2 separate regions of the Homo sapiens genome follow, and region 2 is linked to region 1. The links are contacts of gene promoters, found by promoter capture Hi-C in blood cells and fetal thymus (Javierre and others, 2016). All regions are on one chromosome and are shown on one strand. The core of a region is centred on a gene start or on the middle of the fragment in contact, and the rest is flanking DNA. Distances in the headings are between cores, read along the strand shown. Region 1 holds the start of ACTRT3 (actin related protein T3). Region 2 holds the start of LOC124909455 (a long non-coding RNA gene).

What was found. Contacts are between HindIII fragments. The CHiCAGO score rates a contact against its expected background, and 5 or more counts as called.
Region 2: a fragment that was not itself captured here is called in contact with the fragment with the promoter of ACTRT3 in region 1 in 1 of 17 cell types (total CD8 T cells); the score reaches 5.7 in total CD8 T cells.

Annotation. Positions count from the first base shown.
Region 1 is chr3:169,767,998-169,771,996 of GRCh38, reverse strand. It overlaps ACTRT3 (actin related protein T3), which reads left to right and starts at 2,436. Exons shown (of 2, transcript NM_032487.5): 1 at 2,436-2,676; 2 at 3,647-3,999. The coding sequence starts at 2,477. RefSeq lists enhancers at 1-51, 2,212-2,356, 2,448-2,707, 3,569-3,713, cis regulatory regions at 2,284, 3,641 and a silencer at 2,298-2,367. The HindIII fragment of the contact is 4,942 bases long and covers 1-3,999 here.
Region 2 is chr3:170,060,176-170,064,175 of GRCh38, reverse strand. All of the region lies in intron 2 of GPR160 (G protein-coupled receptor 160), which reads right to left. It overlaps LOC124909455 (a long non-coding RNA gene), which reads left to right and starts at 3,187. Exons shown (of 3, transcript XR_007096156.1): 1 at 3,187-4,000. It also overlaps the pseudogene KMT5AP3. RefSeq lists enhancers at 1,402-1,922, 1,923-2,444. The HindIII fragment of the contact is 4,412 bases long and covers 383-4,000 here.

The DNA of each region.
Region 1 (3,999 bases), core at 1,187-3,686:
AGTTGCCCTTCCTTTGGGTGGCCTTTTTTTTTTTTGTCTCCCTGGAAAGGCGTTTTATTACACATCCTTTCCGCAGGTTGAGCTGCTCAGAGTCCGGGGCGAAGCAGGGGGCTTTCGTTATTCAGCCGCGAAAAAGCCATCCTTTCAGCTTCTGGTGGAAGGACGTGTAAAATTACTTTTGAATTTCCTCTTTTTGCTTCCGAAGACCAAGCAGAAGTTCTAAATTGACTGCTTGTTTTCAAATTCTCTACAGATGTATGCAGAATCAGACACCAAGATGCGTTTATTGACATGCAATGTACTTTCAAATTTTTCCAAACTTGAATTTCATATGACCTGATAAACTTCACTTTTCCTGCAAAAAGACAGGCACGTCCTTCAGCCTAAAAATCAAGAGTAGCGAATGAGGCTTGCAGATTACACCAGAAGGATAGAAATCGAAATATATATATTTATATTTATTATATATAAATATAAATTTTTATATATTTATTATATATAAACATAAATTTTTATATATTTATTATATATAAACATAAATTTTTATATATTTATTATATATAAACAAATTTTTATATATTTATTATATATAAACATAAATTTTTATATATTTATTATATATAAACATAAATTTTTATATTTATTATATATAAACAAATTTTTATATTTATTATATATAAACATAATTTTTTATATATTTATTATATATAAACATAATTTTTTATATATTTATGATATATAAATATAATTTTTTATATATTTATGATATATAAATATAATTTTTTATATATTTATGATATATAAATATAATTTTTTATATATTTATGATATATAAATATAATTTTTTATATATTTATGATATATAAATATAAATTTTTATATATTTATGATATATAAATATAAATTTTTATATATTTATGATATATAAATATAAATTTTTATATATTTATGATATATAAATATAAATTTTTATATATTTATGATATATAAATATAAATTTTTATATATTTATGATATATAAATATAAATTTTTATATATTTATGATATATAAATATAAATTTTTATTTATGATATCTAAATATAAATTTTTATTTATGATATCTAAATATAAATTTTTATTTATGATATCTAAATATAAATTTTTATTTATGATATCTAAATATAAATTTTTATTTATGATATCTAAATATAAATTTTTATATATGATATCTAAATATAAATTTTTATATATGATATCTAAATATAAATTTTTATATATGATATCTAAATATAAATTTTTATATATGATATCTAAATATAAATTTTTATATATGATATCTAAATATAAATTTTTATATATGATATATAAATATAAATTTTTATATATGATATATAAATATAAATTTTTATATATTTATGATATATAAATATAAATTTTTATATATTTATGATATATAAATATAAATTTTTATATATTTATATTTATGATATATAAATATAAATTTTTATATATTTATATTTATGATATATAAATATAAATTTTTATATATTTATATTTATGATATATAAATATAAATTTTTATATATTTATATTTATACATATAATAAATATAAATATAAATTTTTATATATTTATATTTATACATATAATAAATATAAATATATATATTTCGATTTATATCCTTGCTTAAATATATAAATATATATTTTATAAATATATAAATATATTTATATAATATAACATATATTTATATAAATTATATAAATTTATATATTTTTTAATATTTTATATTTAAATTTATATATATTTATATAAATATATATAAATTTATATTTATTTACATATTTAAGCTAGGAACTACTATTTTGTTTTAATTGCGTACATTTTGCTTGGAAATCACAGGAAGAAACACAACAAAGCATTGCCCAAGGTACAGAAACAATAATAAACGTACTTAAAACTCATTTAAATTCCAGCATTTTTCTCCTTATTTTAGAAGTTTAACATTTCAGAAGCAGACACTGCCTCCCTTCCTGCAACAACTTTCTCCTCTTAAGTCTCATTTTTCCCCAGTTTCAAGGGCGAATTCTAGAACTCCCCGGAACCGCCACCAGTTAACCAGAATTCCGTGGCTTTGGAAAATAAAACTGCTGTTATAGCTCTTCTGGGTATTTGAGAAATGCACTTGTGAAGGGTTAGAGTTGAATCTTTTGATGCGAAAGTCGGGTTTTCCTGATACTGGGATTCCGGGATTCCAGGTGTTGGGGTGGCCCAATTCCTGCGAGAAGCAATAGCGGGCGGTAACATGAGGAGCACGGTGCGTCCAGCGAGTCCTTCCGCCTGGGGCCCTGCCGACCCCCTGCCTGCGCCCCCAGGACTCTGGCCTCACCCGGCCGTGCCGGGGCCTCTGTGACGCGGCGTTCCAGGCACTCGGCCCCGGCCGAGCCCGTAGCTAGAGCGGCTCAGAGACAGGAGGCGGCGGCAGCAGCGGCGGCATGAACCACTGCCAGCTACCGGTGGTGATCGACAACGGCTCGGGAATGATCAAGGCGGGCGTGGCTGGGTGCCGGGAGCCCCAGTTTATCTACCCGAACATTATCGGCCGCGCCAAGGGCCAGAGCCGCGCGGCCCAGGGCGGGCTAGAACTCTGCGTGGGCGACCAAGCTCAGGACTGGAGGAGCTCGCTGTTCATCAGGTACCTCCTTCTCCCAGCAGGCTGCTGGGGCTGGGGAGGGTGGGTGGGGTGGGGGTGGGGTAGGGTGGGGCTGGGGAGGTTGGGGGGTGGGGCTGGGGTGGCTGGGGGTGGGGGGACTGGGGGTGTTGTCGGGGGGCAGGAAAGGACCCCAAAGGAGGTGCGCAATGGGGACAGAAAGAATAAGAAAGCCGGGAGCTGGAAAGCCCCATCCAGCTGGAATTACTACAAACGCACGGGCCACAAATCTCCAAGGGTACCACACATCTAAAAACTGAACATTTTGCTCTCTGTGGCTATACAAATGTATTAAAACGTATAAAGTTATCGAACGAATTCATTTAAGAATATTAACTCATGGTCCCTTTTGTCACTTGGGTTATTCTCTTCAATTGACATTTAAACTATACTATAATGTGGACATTTCCCAATTTTTTAAAAGTCACAAGGTTCCAAAGGACAGAGAAAATGGAAAGCAACAAAAATCGCAGAGGTAGGCCGGGCGCGGTGGCTCACGCCTGTAATCCTAGCACTTTGGGAGGCCGAGCAGGGCGGATCACGAGGTCAGGAGTTCGAGACCATCGTGGCTAACACGGTGAAACCCCGTCTCTACTAAAAATACAAAAAAATTAGCCGGGCGTGGTGGCGCGCGCCTGTAGTCCCAGCTACTCAGGAGACTGAGGCAGGAGAATGGCGTGAACCCGGGAGGCGGAGCTTGCAGTGAGCTGAGATCGCGCCACTGCACTCCAGCCTGGGTGACAGAGCGAGACTCTGTCTCCAAAAAAAAAAAAAAAAATTGCAGAGGTAAGTAGCTGTGCTATTTTTGGCTGACACTTACCTGCTGTGAGAGGCTGTGGCAGTTATTGCCCATAAAGGGATATTGGTAATAAACGCGGGGAATTAACTGAGGGTCGAAGACAATAGAAACTAGAAAAATAAAAAGCTGTCATTGATCTTATTGCTTTCCTTACAGTTACCCAGTGGAGCGTGGTCTCATTACTTCATGGGAGGACATGGAGATCATGTGGAAGCATATCTATGACTATAACCTAAAGCTGAAGCCGTGTGATGGCCCAGTCTTGATTACTGAGCCAGCGCTGAACCCACTGGCCAACCGGCAACAGATCACGGAAATGTTTTTTGAGCATCTGGGTGTTCCTGCCTTCTATATGTCCATCCAGGCTGTGCTGGCTCTCTTTGCTGCTGGCTTCACTACTGGCCTTGTGCTGAATTCAGGTGCTGGGGTTACCCAGAGTGTGCCCATCTTTGAGGGTTACTGTCTGCCTCATGGTGTGCAGCAACTGGATCTGGCAGGCCTTGACCTCA
Region 2 (4,000 bases), core at 1,339-3,838, 290 kb before region 1:
CTACAAATCTCTAATTTTGATTAGAATAGAGTATCATCTCAATCTCTTCTACAAAAACAAAAGCAATGCCCCCCCCAAAAAAATACAGCCGCTTCACTCACTTCAAGACCTATGTACATGTAAGTTGTTTCCTGTGTTTTATTATTATTTTTTAATAAATTCAGCGTTCACATTTCTACAAAGAATTAGCCCAGTTTCAGGAAATTCTGCCCGGCAGGGAAGGCAAGCCACACTCTCCTCACCCACGTCTGGTTTGACTTCACACCCCGATGCTTCCAGGTGCTCAGAAAAGCCGCAGCGGGTGGAAGAGGAAATCTATGCCGGCCCGCGCTCAGGGCCACGAGCTCAGTAAGCTTTCGAGAAAGCACGGGGAAGACAAGCTTACTGCCCAATCTTTTAAAAATATATTCATACACTTCAAAGAGCGCCTGTCCAGATGTTAGGAGAACAAGAGCTTGGAGCCATCCCGTCCAGGCCTTTGGGAGACAGCGTCTTCCTCATACCTCGTCGCGGTGTGGGGGACACGTCCCAGCTCTTCCACCGGAGAGAGGAGACTCGCGCGGCTTCCTAGTTCACGTTTGGCTCTAATCCTGTGCTGAGGTTTTTTTTTTTTTTTTTTTTTTGCTTTTTTTGTTTGTTTTTGAGACATGGTCTCACTCTGTCACCCAGGCTGGAGTGCAATGGCGGGATCTCGGCTCACCGCAACCTCCACCTCCTGGGTTCAAGCGATTCTCCTGCCTCAGCCTCCCCAGTGGCTGGGATTACAGGCATGCACCACCACGCCCGGCTAATTTTTGTATTTTTAGTAGAGACGGGGTTTCACCATGTTTGCCAGGCTGGTCTCAATCTCCTGACCTCAAGTGATCCACCCGCTTCGGCCTCCCAAAGTGCTGGGATTACAGGTGTGAGCCACCGCGCCTGGCCTGTGTGCTGAGTTTTTGACTGCATGCATGGGAAGCACAAAACGTTCAACCTGTATTAAAAAAAAAAAAAAAGGCACAAAAACAACTAGAATGTAAAAGTTTTGGTAATATAAAGCCATCTGTTTAAGTCCACCTTGGAAACCTGTAACATCCATTCATTCATTCATTCGTTCATTCATTCATTCAGTCATCTACTTATTTTGAGCTGGAGTCTCCCTCTGCCTCCCAGGATGGAGTGCGGTGGCGCGATCTCGGCTTACTGTGGAGATCCACGGAGATCCACCATGGAGGGGTCCCGTGGCGTCGGTGATCTCCGTGAGGCTCCGGTGCTTTTCTACCACAAAGGCGCCCCGGGAGAGCTCCCTCTGGTGTTCACACCCGGCCTTTGTCATTGATGAGGTCAGTCTTCACTCCTTCTTTCCTTTCCGCTTTCAACCAATTCATCTATTCTTTCCCTTTCTTCAAATTGCAGCTCCGCTTTGCCCTTCCTGGAGCTCCTTGGGACAGGGTAGAAATCCGTGAGTTTGCGACTTTTCCTTGAGCTTTTTTTCGGGGGCCTGTTTGCCCTTGATGGGCTATTTCAAGGCTTGCTTGGCGATGGCTGCATTGGTGGAATCACAAGACGAGGCCGGAGGTTTTGGAAGTTCTGCTGCTTCACATTTTTGGTTTGGAAAAGGTGCGAGGGGTCCTCTCCTGGCGTCTTTGATCTTCTGTGCTTGGGCTTCGTGCTCCGTGTTGCATTCTTTTCCTGTGGATTCCAGCTAATGGTTTCCCCTGGCATTTGACTTCGTGACGTGTAACGGAGTTCTCCTCCTGAAGGCTGGAACACATTCCAGAGCATTTGTTAGGCTCACGGAGGAAAAGATCTTTGATTGCCAGGACATACATTCTCCCCAACGTCGGTGCAGCGCCTCCCTGGACCCCTCTGCTCCACTATCTGCGGGCTCGGGGCCGTCGCTGTCACCCCCGCTGCTGCCTCCGCCGCACGGGACTTGGACATCTTCCTGCCTGGAGAGGGGGACCCTGGGGAGGGGGCGCTCAGAGCGCAGAGCTGTTTGGAGGGCTGTGGTGGGAGCCGATGTCCCCCTCCTGCCGCTAGGCCCAGTAGGGCCCGACACACCCACCTCAGGAAAATTTTCTTTTTAGTGACACATAAAATAATGATGTCTTACAATGGATGGCATGTTGATTGAATAAAATATTGTAAAATAGACCTTATAAAATAAAAAAACTTGGAATTTAATTTTTATTTATTTATTTTAAAATCATAGAGATGGGGTCTCCCTATGTTGCCCAGGCTGGTCTCAAACTGCCGGCCTCAAGCGATGCTCCCACCTCCGCCTCCCAAAGTGCTGGGATTCCAGGCAGGAGCCACTGCGCATGGCCTTGAAATTTAAAAATAAGAAAATGTACAGAGATAGTATATAACCATTTAAAAGAATATCTTTGAGGACTATTTAATGGAGACTTGCCAATAATTATAATATGGAACAAGCAGAAGGAACATAAAAAACCATGTAGAGTACAATTCAATTTTGTTTAAATATATGTAGATGAGATGGAAATATACCAAAGTGTTAATGATGGTTATCTTAGTGTGGTCTTATAAGACTTCATTTTATCTCGATATTTTCCCATTTTTCCTATGATGATTTATCTTATAATCGGATAGCCATTTTCATAACTATGATACCATCATTTTATCTATGAAATCAAATTATATAGTATTTAATACATAGTCCATATTAAAACTGTCCCATTAATTAAAACTGTCCCATAAATATTAATTTAATGAAATTAAATTAAATGGTATAGTATCTAATACATAGTCCATATTAAAACTGTCCCAATGTTGTTAGAGTTTTTTTTAATACAAAATCCAATCAAGGATCACATATTTGTCATGTCTTGTTAGTCTCTTTTAATTTTGGATAATTTGTTGTTGTTGTTGTTTTTTATCTTTCTTTTTTTTTTTTTTGAGACAGAGTCTCACTCTGTCACCCAGGCTGGAGTGCAGTGGCGCCATATCGGCTCACTGCAACCTCTGCCTCCCAGGTTCAAGCGATTCTCCTGCCTCAGCCTCCCGAGTAGCTGGGATTACAGGTGCCTGCCACCACGCCTGGCTAATTTTTGTATTATTAGTAGAGATGTGGTTTCACCATGTTGGTCAGGCTGGTCTTGAACTCCTGACTTCAAGCAATCCACCCTCCTGGGCCTCCCAAAGTGCTGGGATTACAGGTGTGAGCCACCGTGCCCGGCAATACTGACATTTTTGAAGAGTCCAGGTCAGTTATCTTGTAAAATATCACATAATCTCGATTTGTCTAATTGTTTTCTCAATATTAAACATTTCTGGCAAGAAAACTATCTAGATGATATATCCCATTATGTCATGTCTCATTACTGGTCATGTGATGTTAGGTCACTTGATTAAGGAGGTGTTTGCCATATTTCTTTTTCTTTTTATTATTAGTATTATTTTGAGACAGGGTCTCACTGTGTTGCTGAAGCTGGAGTGCAGTAGTACAGTCATAGCTCACTGTAACCTAGAACTCCTGGGCTCAAGTGATCTTCCCACCGCAGCCTCCTGAGTAGCTAGGACTATAGAGGTGTGCACCACCATGCCCAGTTAATTTTTTTTTAAAATACTGTTTTGTAGAGATGGGGTCTTGCTGTTGCCCAGGCTGGTCTTGAACTCCTAGCCTCAAGCAATTATCCCTCCTAGGCCTCCCAAAGTGGTGGGATTATAGGCATGAGCCACCTCGCCTCGTCCATTTTACTGTTGTAGAGGACCTTTTCCCTTTGTAATTAATACTTTGAGACTGTTAGACCAATCCGTTGCATAACAAAGTTTCACCTGATAGTTTTAGCATCCGTTTATTATCCTTGCCTGAATTAATCACCACACTGGGAGTTGTAAAATAGTAATTTTCTAATTCTAAGATTCATTCTGCTTTCATGAGCTGGCAGTTGTTTCTGGAAATACATTATAGATTCATTGATTTATTTTTATTAAATGTGTTATAATTCACTGCCATCATTCTTCTTTTGAATGCTTAAAATTTTCCAAATCATCT